Regions from separate parts of the Homo sapiens genome. Here region 1 is linked to region 2. Evidence: promoter capture Hi-C in 16 types of primary human blood cells and fetal thymus (Javierre and others, 2016). All regions are on one chromosome and are shown on one strand. Each heading gives the region's core, a stretch centred on a gene start or on the middle of the fragment in contact. The rest is flanking DNA. Distances are from core to core; before and after follow the strand shown. Region 1 has its middle 14 kb from the start of LINC02318. Region 2 holds the start of TCL1A (TCL1 family AKT coactivator A).

Region 1 (5,477 bases), core at 2,109-4,608, 160 kb after region 2:
GCCTGTCTTGAATATGGCAGAGTCAAACCCACAAGCTCTTGGGGAGTCCTTAAACAATTGAGATTACCTTCTTTGATGACCACCCGCAGCCCAAGGGGAGGATACTTTGAATACCACCTACTCCACATCCCAACTAAGGAAAGGAAAACAAAGTTGGCTACCCCCAACTGTCTGGGATTTTTCAATTTTTGCCTTTTTCCCTCTCTCTTGTGTCTCCTATATAAATCCTACCCATGTAGAAGTCAATCTATCATTTGTTTCCCTCATAGATAAGCAAATTAATTGGCTTATTATATTACCTATGTCTTTTATTTATTCTTTGATAGGAGGCACTATTATTTTCTCCTTTTTACCGATGAGGAAACTGAGGCTCCGAGAGCTTGAGTGGTTTGTCCAAGGTAAATGGGAGCCAGGTTCTGATTCTGGTCTTCAGTGCCCAAATTCCTGCCCCTCTCTCTAGGACAGCTCGAAGCCCTATTCTGGCCTATTAAAGGGAGCATTTCCAGAGAGAAAAAAAAATGGATGTGGACACATTCGACGTTTCTGATATGATTGTGTTGTCTGGAGCCCAAACGCTCTCCCTCGGGCCCTTGAAATGATGGGAAGGATGCAAGGTCAGAAAAAATGTGGAATGTACGGGACTCGGGCTCTACCTGGGGACATAGAGAAATCTCCCTGATTTGTTTTTCACATAGAGAATTTACTTAGGGAAGGTGGAGAGTGCAGAACGCGGCTCCGCGTGGTGGCGAAGCATAAGAAGTGCACCTGCAGGCAGAAGGGAGCCAGATGGAGGCCACCTGCAATAACGGGGCTCATTCCCGGAGAAGCAGCGCCATCTGCTGGTTTCCCATGATATGACTGTGTCAGACCAGAACAAAAGCATTTAGAACAGGCCATCTCAAAGAAATGCTAGCCTGATATTTTACCTTTTGGAGTAAAATTTCAGACTATGCAAGGATTTGATCCACTTAGCATTGAAAACAAAACCAAAAGCAACCTGCTGTGGTCCGAATGTTTGTGTCTGCCCTAAATTCCTATGTTGAAATCCTAACTAACCCCAAGGGTGATGGTACTAGAAGATGGGGCCTATGGGAGGTGATCAGGTCGTAACGGTGCAATCCTCAGCAGAGGGATTAGTGCCCTTATAAAAGGGACCGCAAAGACACCCTAATCCCTGCTACCATGCAAGGACATAGGAAGAAGCCGCTAGCTATGAGGAAGTGGGTCCTCACTAAACACCAAATCAGCCGGGGCCTTGATCTTGGACTTGCCAGCCTCCTGAACTGTGAGAAATATATATATATATTTGAGACAGAGTCTTGCTCTGTTGCCCAGGCTGGAGTGCAGTGGCACAGTCATGGCCCATTGCAACCTCCACCTCCTGGGCTCAAGCAATCCCTTCACCTCAGCCTTCCAAGAAGCTGGGACTACAGGCATGCACCACCACACCCGGATAATTTTTGTATTTTTTGTAGAAACAGGTTTTCGCCATGTTGTCCAGGCTAGTCTTGAACTCCTGGCTTCAAGCAATCTGCCTGCCTCAACCTCCCAAAGTGTTGGGATTACAAGCATGAGCTACCACACCCGGCCAAAATTTCTGTTGTTTTATAGCCACCCAGCTTACAGTATTTTGTTATGGCATCCTAAACAGTCTAAGGAATGAGCTTTTGTTAATTATTCAATAAATAGTGTTAAGCCCTTAGAAAAATAAGACAGACATAGTTTCTGCCCTTTTGGAAGTTGCATTCTGGCAAAAGGTAAACATGCTGTACCATCTCTCACACACACATGTAGTTATATACATACATGCTTGTGTACATACATGCATTTGTATACAAGCTCGTTTTAGGTATTGGTAAATGTCATGAAGAAGGAAGAAGAATAAAAGATGATACTGGGCCAGGCGCGGTGGCTCACACCTGTAATCCCAGCACTTTGGGAGGCTGAGGTGGGCAGATCATGAGGTCAGGAGATCAAGAACATCCTGGCTAACATGGTGAAACCCATCTCTACTAAAAATACAAAAAAAAAAAAAAAATTAGCTGGGCGTGGTGGCAGGCGCCTGTAGTCCCAGCTACTCATGAGGCTGAGGCTGGGGAATGGAGTGAACCCGGGAGGCAGAGCTTGCAGTGAGCCGAGATCATGCCACTGCACTCCAGCCTGGGTGACAGAGTGAGACTCCGTCTCAAAAAAAAACAAAAAAAAGATGATACTGACTGGGGTTCTGGTGGAATAAGCTGGGGTTTGCTCTCCAGCCAGGACAATAGAAAAGACCTCTTTGAATTAAGATCTGAATCATGAGAAGAAGGTAGATGTGTAGGAAAGAAGAATTTCCAAAGAGAAGGAACAAGAGCAGAGGGTGGGTCCAAGCCTGACAGCGTGAGAAAGAAGCCACGGGGGCTGGGGCACAGCCAGTGCATGGCCCAGCTGAGTTCTGTAAGCAAAAGGCCTGCATCAGCAAGATTCACGTTTCCCAAGACTATCTCTTGAAAAGAATAGGTGCTTATTGTTTAATCTTTCCAGATTCTTACATAACTGGGCACTCTTTCAATTACTTTAGTTTAAATAACTACAGTCTTTCTGGGGAAGCCACATTAGCCTGAAATGACCTCAAGGTGAGCTGTTTGGCCAAACACGTTTAAACCAGATACAGCTAGTAATCCCAGCTGGAATGTTGAACGACATTGTAAATAAGCCTTTTAAAAAATATAGAATTTCGGCAGGGCGCGGTGGCTCATGCCTATAATCCCAGCACTTCGGGAGGCCCAGGCGGGCAGATCACGAGGTCAGAAGTTCGAGACCAGCCTGACCAACATGGTGAAACCCTGTCTCTACTAAAAATACAAAAATTAGCCGGGTGTGGTGGTGCATGCCTGTAATCCCAGCTACTCAGGAGGCTGAGGCAAAAGAATCACTGGAACCCAGGAGGTGGAGGTTGCAGTGAGCTGAGATAGCACCATTGCACTCTAGCCTGGGTGACAGAGCGAGACTCCGTCTCAAAAAAAAAAAAATATATATATATATATACACACACACACACGTATATATTTTTATATACACATATGTATATATTTTTATATTTATATATACATATATATTTTTATATTTATATATAATTTCAACTTTTATTTTAGATTGGGAGGGTACATGTGCAGGTTTGTTACACGGATATATTGAATGACACTGAGGTTTGAGGTAGGAATGATTCCATCACTGAGCATAGTACCTAATAGGTAGTTTTTCAGCCCTTTCCCGACTCCCTCTCCCCGCTTCTAGTAGTCTCCAGTGTCTACTGTTTCCTTGTTTACATCCATATGTACCCAATGTTTAGTTTCCATTTGTGAGGACATGTGGTATATGGTTTTCTGTTTCTGCATTAATTCACTTGGTATAATGGCCTCCAGCTGCATCCAGGTTGCTGCAAAGGACATTATCTCATTCTTTTTTATGACTGCATAGTAGTCCATGGTGTATATATACCACATTTTCTTTATCCAATCCACCTTTGATGGGCACCTAGGTTGATTCCATATCTCTGCTATCGTGAATAGTGCTGTGATGAACATACAAGTGCATGTGTCTTTTTGGTGCAATGATTTATTTTCCTTTGGATATATGCCCAGTAATGGGATTGCTAGGTGGAATGGTAGTTCTGTTTTAAATGCTCTGAGAAATCTCCAAACTGTTTTCCACAGTGGCTGAACTAATTTGCATTCCCACCAAACAATGTAAACTAATTTACATCCCCACCAATAAGGGTTTCCTTTTCTCTGCAGCCTGGCCAGTATCTGTTGTTTTTTGACTTTTTAATAATAGCCATTCTGGCTGGTGTGAGATGATACCTCATTGTGGTTTTGGTTTGCATTTCTCTGATGATTAGTGATGTTGAGCATTCTTTCATACGGTAAACAAGCCTTTTAAAGATCACTTTAAAAAGCAAATCGATGGGTAGTTACATCATAGAGACCATGGTTAAACACCTACAGAAAAAAAAATTCAGTGTCCTAATGTGCTTAAGATAAAATGCTCATGGAAGTGGTCATACATGGATTCAAAACTGCTCCAGCTCAGAAAACTTAAATAAAAGTAAAGGTAGTCTGAGTGTAGTGGTTCCTGCCTGTAATCTCAGCACTTTGGGAGGCCAAGGCGGGTGGGTCGCTGGAGCTCGGGAGCAGCCTGGGCAGCCGAGACTAGCCTGGGCAGCATGACAATACCCTGTCTCTACCAAAAATACCAAAAAATTACCCGGGCGTGGTTGTGTGCACCTGTAATCCCAGCTACTCAGGAGGCTGAGGCGGGAGGATCGCTTGAGCCTAGAAGGCGGAAGTTGCAGTGAGCAGAGATCACACCACTGCACCCCAGCCTGGGCAACACAGCAAGACCCTGTCTCAAAAAAGTCAAGGAAAGGCACTCTTGACGTTGATTCTCATGCTGTGGTGTGTGGACCAGCAGCAGTAGCGGAGACACCTGGGAGCTTGTTAGACATGCGCGGTAGGAATCTGCATTTGAATTAGATCCCTAGGTGAGTCACATGCACAATCACGTTTGAGAAGTTTGAGAAGCGCTGCTCTTGGAAACTTGTGGCAGAGCTCAAAAAGTGCTCCAGTCATGAGAGACACTGATGCTGAAAATTCCAGCAGAGCATTTTAGTAGTTGTTTCACAAGCTGAGAAGAAAAGCAACATTTGTAAATAAATGTATTACTTGATGATATATTAAATGTAGCTAAATTAATAGATTGTGGGCTCCAGCGCCAATTGCCTGGCCTTATATTTTCTAGTTCTTCCGCTTTTTCAGCTGTGTGTCCCTGGTCAAGTTACACATCTTCTCTGTTCCTCAATGCTCTCATTGGTAAAATGTTAAGCGTGTGTTAAAACACATTTAACATAGTTGGTGTACCATATATTTAATATAGTTGACTATGTCATCCACATCCATAAAGGTTTTTATATTTAAACTATCAAAACGTTTTCAAAAGTCCTCCCATTGGGAAAAAATGGGAAGCAGTGTTTTCCCTTATACTTAGAAACACAAAAAGCGGTTCCATGAGAGTTGGAGTTCAACTAGCTAGTATAAGTTCATTTCAGCTCTTAGTTCTCAGCTGGGTTCAGCCCAAGCTCCTGCTTTAAATCAGTATCTCTAGTGGCCAACTCTGCTACCATTAGTCAACACTGGGTAAAGTCTTCAAATGTAAATATTAAATAAATAGGCCCAGTGCGCTGGCTCATGCCTGTAATCCTGACACTTTGGGAGGCCGAGATGGGCGGATCACTTGAGGTCAGAAGTTTGAGACCAGCCTGGCCAACATGGGGAAACCACATCTCTACTAAAAATACAAAACTTAGCCAGGCATGGTGGCACCTGCATGTAATCCCAGCTACTCGGGAGGCTTAGGCAGGAGAATCCCTTGCACCTGGGAGACAGAGGTTGCAGTGAGCCAAGATCGCACCACTGCACTCCAGCCTCGGGGACAGAGTG
Region 2 (5,435 bases), core at 2,455-4,954:
CATCTTTTGTACCCTGAACTCACTTGATCAGCAGCCTTAATTATTTCAACTATGGCCCAGACCTAGGAACTAAAAAAAAAAAAAAAAAAACAAAAAAAAAAACAGGCTGGGCACGGTGGCTCATGCCTGTAATCCCAGCACTTTGGAAGGCCGAGGTGGGAGGATCACCTGAGGTCAGGAGTTCAAGACCAGCCTGACCAACATGAAGAAACCCCATTTCTACTAAAAATACAAAATTAGACAGGCGTGGTGGCGCATACCTGTAATCCCAGCTACTCGGGAGGCAGAAGCAGGAGAATCGCTTGAACCCAGGAGGTGGAGGTCGCAGTGAGCCAAGATCACACCATTGCATTCCAGCCTGGGCAACAAGAGGGAAACTCTGTCTCAAAAAACAAACAAACAAACAAAACACTCCAGGCATGGATGCCTTAATAGCTACATATATATCACAGATTCTGTGTTTTACACATTAGCAAGATCTCAGACCCTTATGATTCCAATAAACTTAGGGCTATGGATCCCTGACCACGAAGGATTGGAAGCAGCAAAGTAGGGCAAAGGGAAAGAAGTAAAATATGGAGTTGGGGTGAAGTTTACAATGAGAATTGATGGTAGAAAGAATAGCTTTGACATTTTCGTAGTTATTTAGATTTATAAATCTGTGCACACGTCAAAAACAGTCACTCAGATCTTAGAGAAATTGTACTTAACCCTGCCTACGTGTTAGCATCACCTACTTTTCTCAAGCCTCAATCTCGGAGATTCTGATGTAATTGGTTTGGAGTGGGATCCAGGCGCAGGTGTTTCATTAAAGCTTCCCAGGTGATTCTTAGTGGTTTAGGCTCAGTCATCATAGGGCCCAAAGGCCTAAACACCTAAGTAGCCTCTAAATAGGCTCTTTCCAGCTTGCTATAATCATTGACAATCAAGGACCCCAGGGTTGGTGAGGATGACCTTGGTTACTAGGATTTTCTTTTAAGAGGAAAACACTCTATATATTAGAGGTGATTTTGGCAGAAAATAAGATAGCCTGGAAGTAAATGATACACAAACACCGATATAAGTCCTGTGTCATAGTTGGAGAAATCTGGAGGGCACTGGTGTGTTGAATCAGACACCCCCTATCTCTCCCTCTTGACCCTCCCTCCATATAGCCCAACATTTACCATGCCCGTGAATCACCTGGGGGTCTTGTTCCAATACAGATTCTGACTCAGTAGTCTTGGGGGAGGCTCCAGATTCTGTCATTCTTACGAGCTCCAGGTGATGCTACTGTAGCTGGTCCAGGGACAACACTTTGAGTCAAGGTCATCCTGATGGCCTTGACTACTCCTCAACCCCTTCTTTGGAACCCAAACAAGAAGAATGGCTCCCATGAATTCCACTGGGGTCCTTGATCTACAGCCACTGTACCAAAAACTGTAGGCATTCCTGAACTAACATCATATATTTTGTCCATCTCTTTTCTTAACTATTCCCTCCTCCCACTAGGCAATGTTATAGGAGGATTGGGGCCTACTGAGTTAGAAACAAGCTTAGAGAGCAGGTATTTTGCCCCATTCATTACAAAACTATGGCACTGAGGCCAAGTTGCAAAGGATTTGTCAAGTTCACAGGTGATCGTGGTAAAGGCAAAACTAGATCTAAATCAGGACATGAACGCATCCATTAAGGATTCTGTCAAAATGATTGCTTCCTGTAGCTTTCTGTGTGAAACATCCATTTGCTTATCCTCAGGGAAATCAGACTAACAAAGACTTGGAAAGGAACATAAAATTCTAAAGCTAGGCTTATGGCCTTTATAACCCTTAGATGGGGCAGATAACATGCCACGGAGGCTCAGAGACAGCTCTGAGACTATGCAATAGCTACTGTTTCCCCTCTTGTGGAATGTTCACTTAAAAAAGCTCAAGGGCTCTATAAGTTGCCCAATGAACTCCACAGACATCCTTAATTCATTTTCATTTATTGGAACCCTCTCTCAAATAATTTTCTAAATCTCACGCAATAATGATGTATATTCTTGCTCAATATTAAGAAGCCCTCATGCAAAACTGAAGAAATAAATTGTTCTTACAAAAGAAGGAAAAAGGAATTATATTCTCAGAACATTCTGCTTACCCAGACACACAGATCTGATTCTTGCTCCATTGTTTGTGGCATTCTGGATCCTAGGGCCATTGATGAGGCTGGGTCAGTGGCCACACTGGCTCCTGGGTACCCCTTCCCTGGCCACAAAAGTCCATCCCAGCAGCACTATTTAAACTGGACTTATTTCTCACTTCACAGCTCTGGCCTGGGCTGAGACCTCCCCAACAGAGCTTATTAGCGAGCTTGTCATCTTGCTCTGTGGCTATCTAGGTCTGGAGTCAAGAGCCATTCACAGGAAAATCAGCATGAAACCTTTAAGTTTGCATATTAAATATTAACACCACTAAGGGCTACAGTGGAAAAGAGGTTTGCTGAGCTCAAGGGCCCTCACTCCACCCCCAACTTCCCTTGGCTTTTCTCTTCTATGTTGTGTTCCTGGTAAATCCCATTATGTCTCGACTACCTTAGGCCCTCTCAGCCCCTTCTTGGGAATTAGGCTCTCTGGATAGGCAAAGAGGCAGATACCCAGCTGCCAGGTGAATCAGATGTCCTCATCAGATCTCTTAATTTCCACTTTGGTGATATTTCAAAGGATCACAAATTATGTTCTTAGTGCCTGGTCAGAGAACTGGGAAAGAGCTGGAAGATGAGACACCAAACTCCATCCCATGGTGATGTTTGAACCAGGCTGGAGCTGGTTTCACATGTTTTTCATTGTGCATGACTTTCTTAATTGCCTTAGTGGGAATGCGTTACTGCAAAATAAAGTGAAATTGTTTTCCTTATTGCTTGTAATTTACAGAGGGGTGGTTTTGATCATATAAACCAGGCACTTTTCAAATCCATTGATCTTAGGGTGGAAGGAGGGATTTCTTTTTAAGTATTCATTTCGAACTATGCTTTCACTAGTAAACTCAAAGCCCAAGGGCAAAAACCCATGATTCTCCATTTTGTAATAGCTATTAGATGTCCACAGCACATCAGACCTGTGGAAAACGCATGCTTTGTGTATGGAAGAGGGAGAGGGAGCGTCAGGAGTTGTCCTTTGCCAAAAAACGTACTCTGACACTCAAAGGCACAGGCTGGTGGAGATCCAGGGAACCCGGGAAAGCCCAGGCCTAACTCAGGCCCGCGCGGGTCTCTTCTGATCCCATAAGATGAGGAGTGGGTCCTGGCTCTGGGCATCCTGGTGTCGACTGTGAGTTCCCAGCAGAGGCCCAGAGTCCCGGTCCGGCAGCCGAGGGAAGCGGGGGGGTCTTCCAGAAGAAGAAAGGGCCAAGGTCACCCCGGTGCCTCTCCAGCAGCAGCAGAGGGCGGCGGTCGGTGTCGCTGCTGGCCGGGGCCTCGAGGAAGGCGCGGGCCAGCTGGGGCCGGGTCTGCGTTCCCAGGAGCTGCCACCGTTCCAGGGAGCAAGTCAGGCCGGGACGTAGCGCCTGCGCGGGACCCTCACTTGCCACCAAGACCCCCACAAACCCCGCCCCATCCTGCCTTACGCCCCGCCCCAAGGTCGTTCTCCCGACCCGGGGTCCCGCCCCAAGGCCGTCCTCCCGCCCCGCCGCTTGGTGGCGGCCGCATGCTGCCCGGATATAAAGGGTCGGCCCCACATCCCAGGGACCAGCGAGCGGCCTTGAGAGGCTCTGGCTCTTGCTTCTTAGGCGGCCCGAGGACGCCATGGCCGAGTGCCCGACACTCGGGGAGGCAGTCACCGACCACCCGGACCGCCTGTGGGCCTGGGAGAAGTTCGTGTATTTGGACGAGAAGCAGCACGCCTGGCTGCCCTTAACCATCGAGGTACAGCCAGCTTTGGAGCGGATGGCGAGGCAGCAGGGGCAGCCCCTGGGAGCTTGGGATGCCCTAGGAAGGGCGAGGACTCAAGGAGCACTCACTATGGGGCAGGGAGGATCCCCACAGATGAAGCCACTTTGAGCCGGGCTCTGGAGGATGAATAGGAGTTCTCCAGGCAGGGAAGAAGGGTGGGAAAACCGCAAAGGAATGTCGGTCAAAGGGGTGGACCCAGTGCCTGTGGAGTGTGACTATAATGTTGACTACAGCAGGCATTTTCTGGGCTTCGGGGTCCTAATCCTTAAAAATGGGTATCTCTAAGTGACTCATCCATATGGCCGATTATCGGAATCATCTCAGGTGGGTCCCAGAAATCTGTATTTTTAAAAAGAACCCTCAACAGTTTAGGGTCAACCAGGCATAGCAAACACTGGCCTAGAGTGTGAAGTATTTTCCACTACCTCTGGGCTTTATTTAGAAAACAAATTTAACAAGTGATGTCGTAGTATAAGCGCCGGTATTGAATCAATATTGACTTTTTTAATGTGTGATGCCTTAAGATGGGTCCTTAATCCATGTTAAGTTTTTGTTAAAGAAATAGATAAGTCTTTTACAAGTATTTGGATTTACTCAATGAAAAAGAGTCAAAAAATGTTCAAACTCTCTCCAAACATACACTGAAGAAAGCATAAAAATTAAAAAATATATTAGAACACGTATGTCCAGTAGCAATCAAAAATTATTGAGTGTTGACTGTGTCTCTACAGATGGGAAACTGAGGCACAAAAATGTACATTTGTCCGAGGTAAGATTGCTAGTAGGTAATGGGGTTGGAATTCTAGGCTCTTAACCACCACAAAATCTGCATTTTTATTGGCATTTCAATTTTTTAAATATGTTTTTACTTTAAAAATCAAGTTAAATACTTACTTTTTTAAAATCAAAATTTGAAGAAATAATTTGAAGATTCAGTGGATTTCTTTTTTTAAATCTCTGAGAAATCTCTTCTTCAACGTGACACCAAAACCACGAACCAGACAGTTTTTCATAAAATCATGATACATGCTCCACAAAAAATAACCCACTAGCAAACTGTGGGACAGATTTTGCCTCACATCATTGAAAAGGCCAGTATTCTTTTTCTCTCTTTCTTTCTTTGTTGTTTTTTTTTTTTCCTGTAGATACAGGGTCTCGCTCTGTGACCCAGGCTGGTCTTAAACTCCTGGCCTCAAGCGATCCTCCTGCCTCTGCCTTCCAAAGCACTGGAATTACAAGTGTGAGCCGCTGCAACCCGCCAGAAAAAAGTGTGCCTTTCATGGCCCTGTCTGGGTGGCTAGACACGTGTGTGTGCTGGTGGTCCTGGCCCAGCCAGAGTCCCTGAGAGGAGCATGCATGGCCTAAGGAAGTGAGCTTCAGGGAACAGTGATGACCATCATTTCACACTCGGACCCCTGCCCAGATGGGTGGATGGCTGGCAGGAGGGATTCCGGTTTTCTGCGCCTGGAGAAGCCCTGGCAAGCGGAACCTGAAAGTATGCCCTGTCCTTTTCTTCTCCTCAGATA

What was found. The method cuts DNA at HindIII sites, captures the fragments that hold promoters and counts their contacts. A CHiCAGO score of 5 or more calls a contact.
Region 1: a contact is called between a fragment that was not itself captured here and the fragment with the promoter of TCL1A in region 2, in 2 of 17 cell types (naive B cells and total B cells). The highest score is 6.7, in naive B cells.

The regions. Positions count from the first base shown.
Region 1 is chr14:95,556,446-95,561,922 of GRCh38, reverse strand. No RefSeq gene overlaps it. Among named protein-coding and RNA genes, the nearest start is that of LINC02318, 14 kb to the left of the region's middle. RefSeq lists an enhancer at 3,752-4,251. The HindIII fragment of the contact is 8,364 bases long and covers 1-5,477 here.
Region 2 is chr14:95,712,394-95,717,828 of GRCh38, reverse strand. It overlaps TCL1A (TCL1 family AKT coactivator A), which reads left to right and starts at 3,704. Exons shown (of 4, transcript NM_021966.3): 1 at 3,704-3,882; 2 at 5,433-5,435. The coding sequence starts at 3,763. LOC107984703 (a long non-coding RNA gene) reads right to left here and starts at 2,346. Exons shown (of 3, transcript NR_148060.1): 1 at 2,122-2,346; 2 at 261-358. RefSeq lists a silencer at 3,450-3,689 and enhancers at 3,920-3,969, 5,084-5,303, 5,344-5,435. The HindIII fragment of the contact is 7,267 bases long and covers 1,537-5,435 here.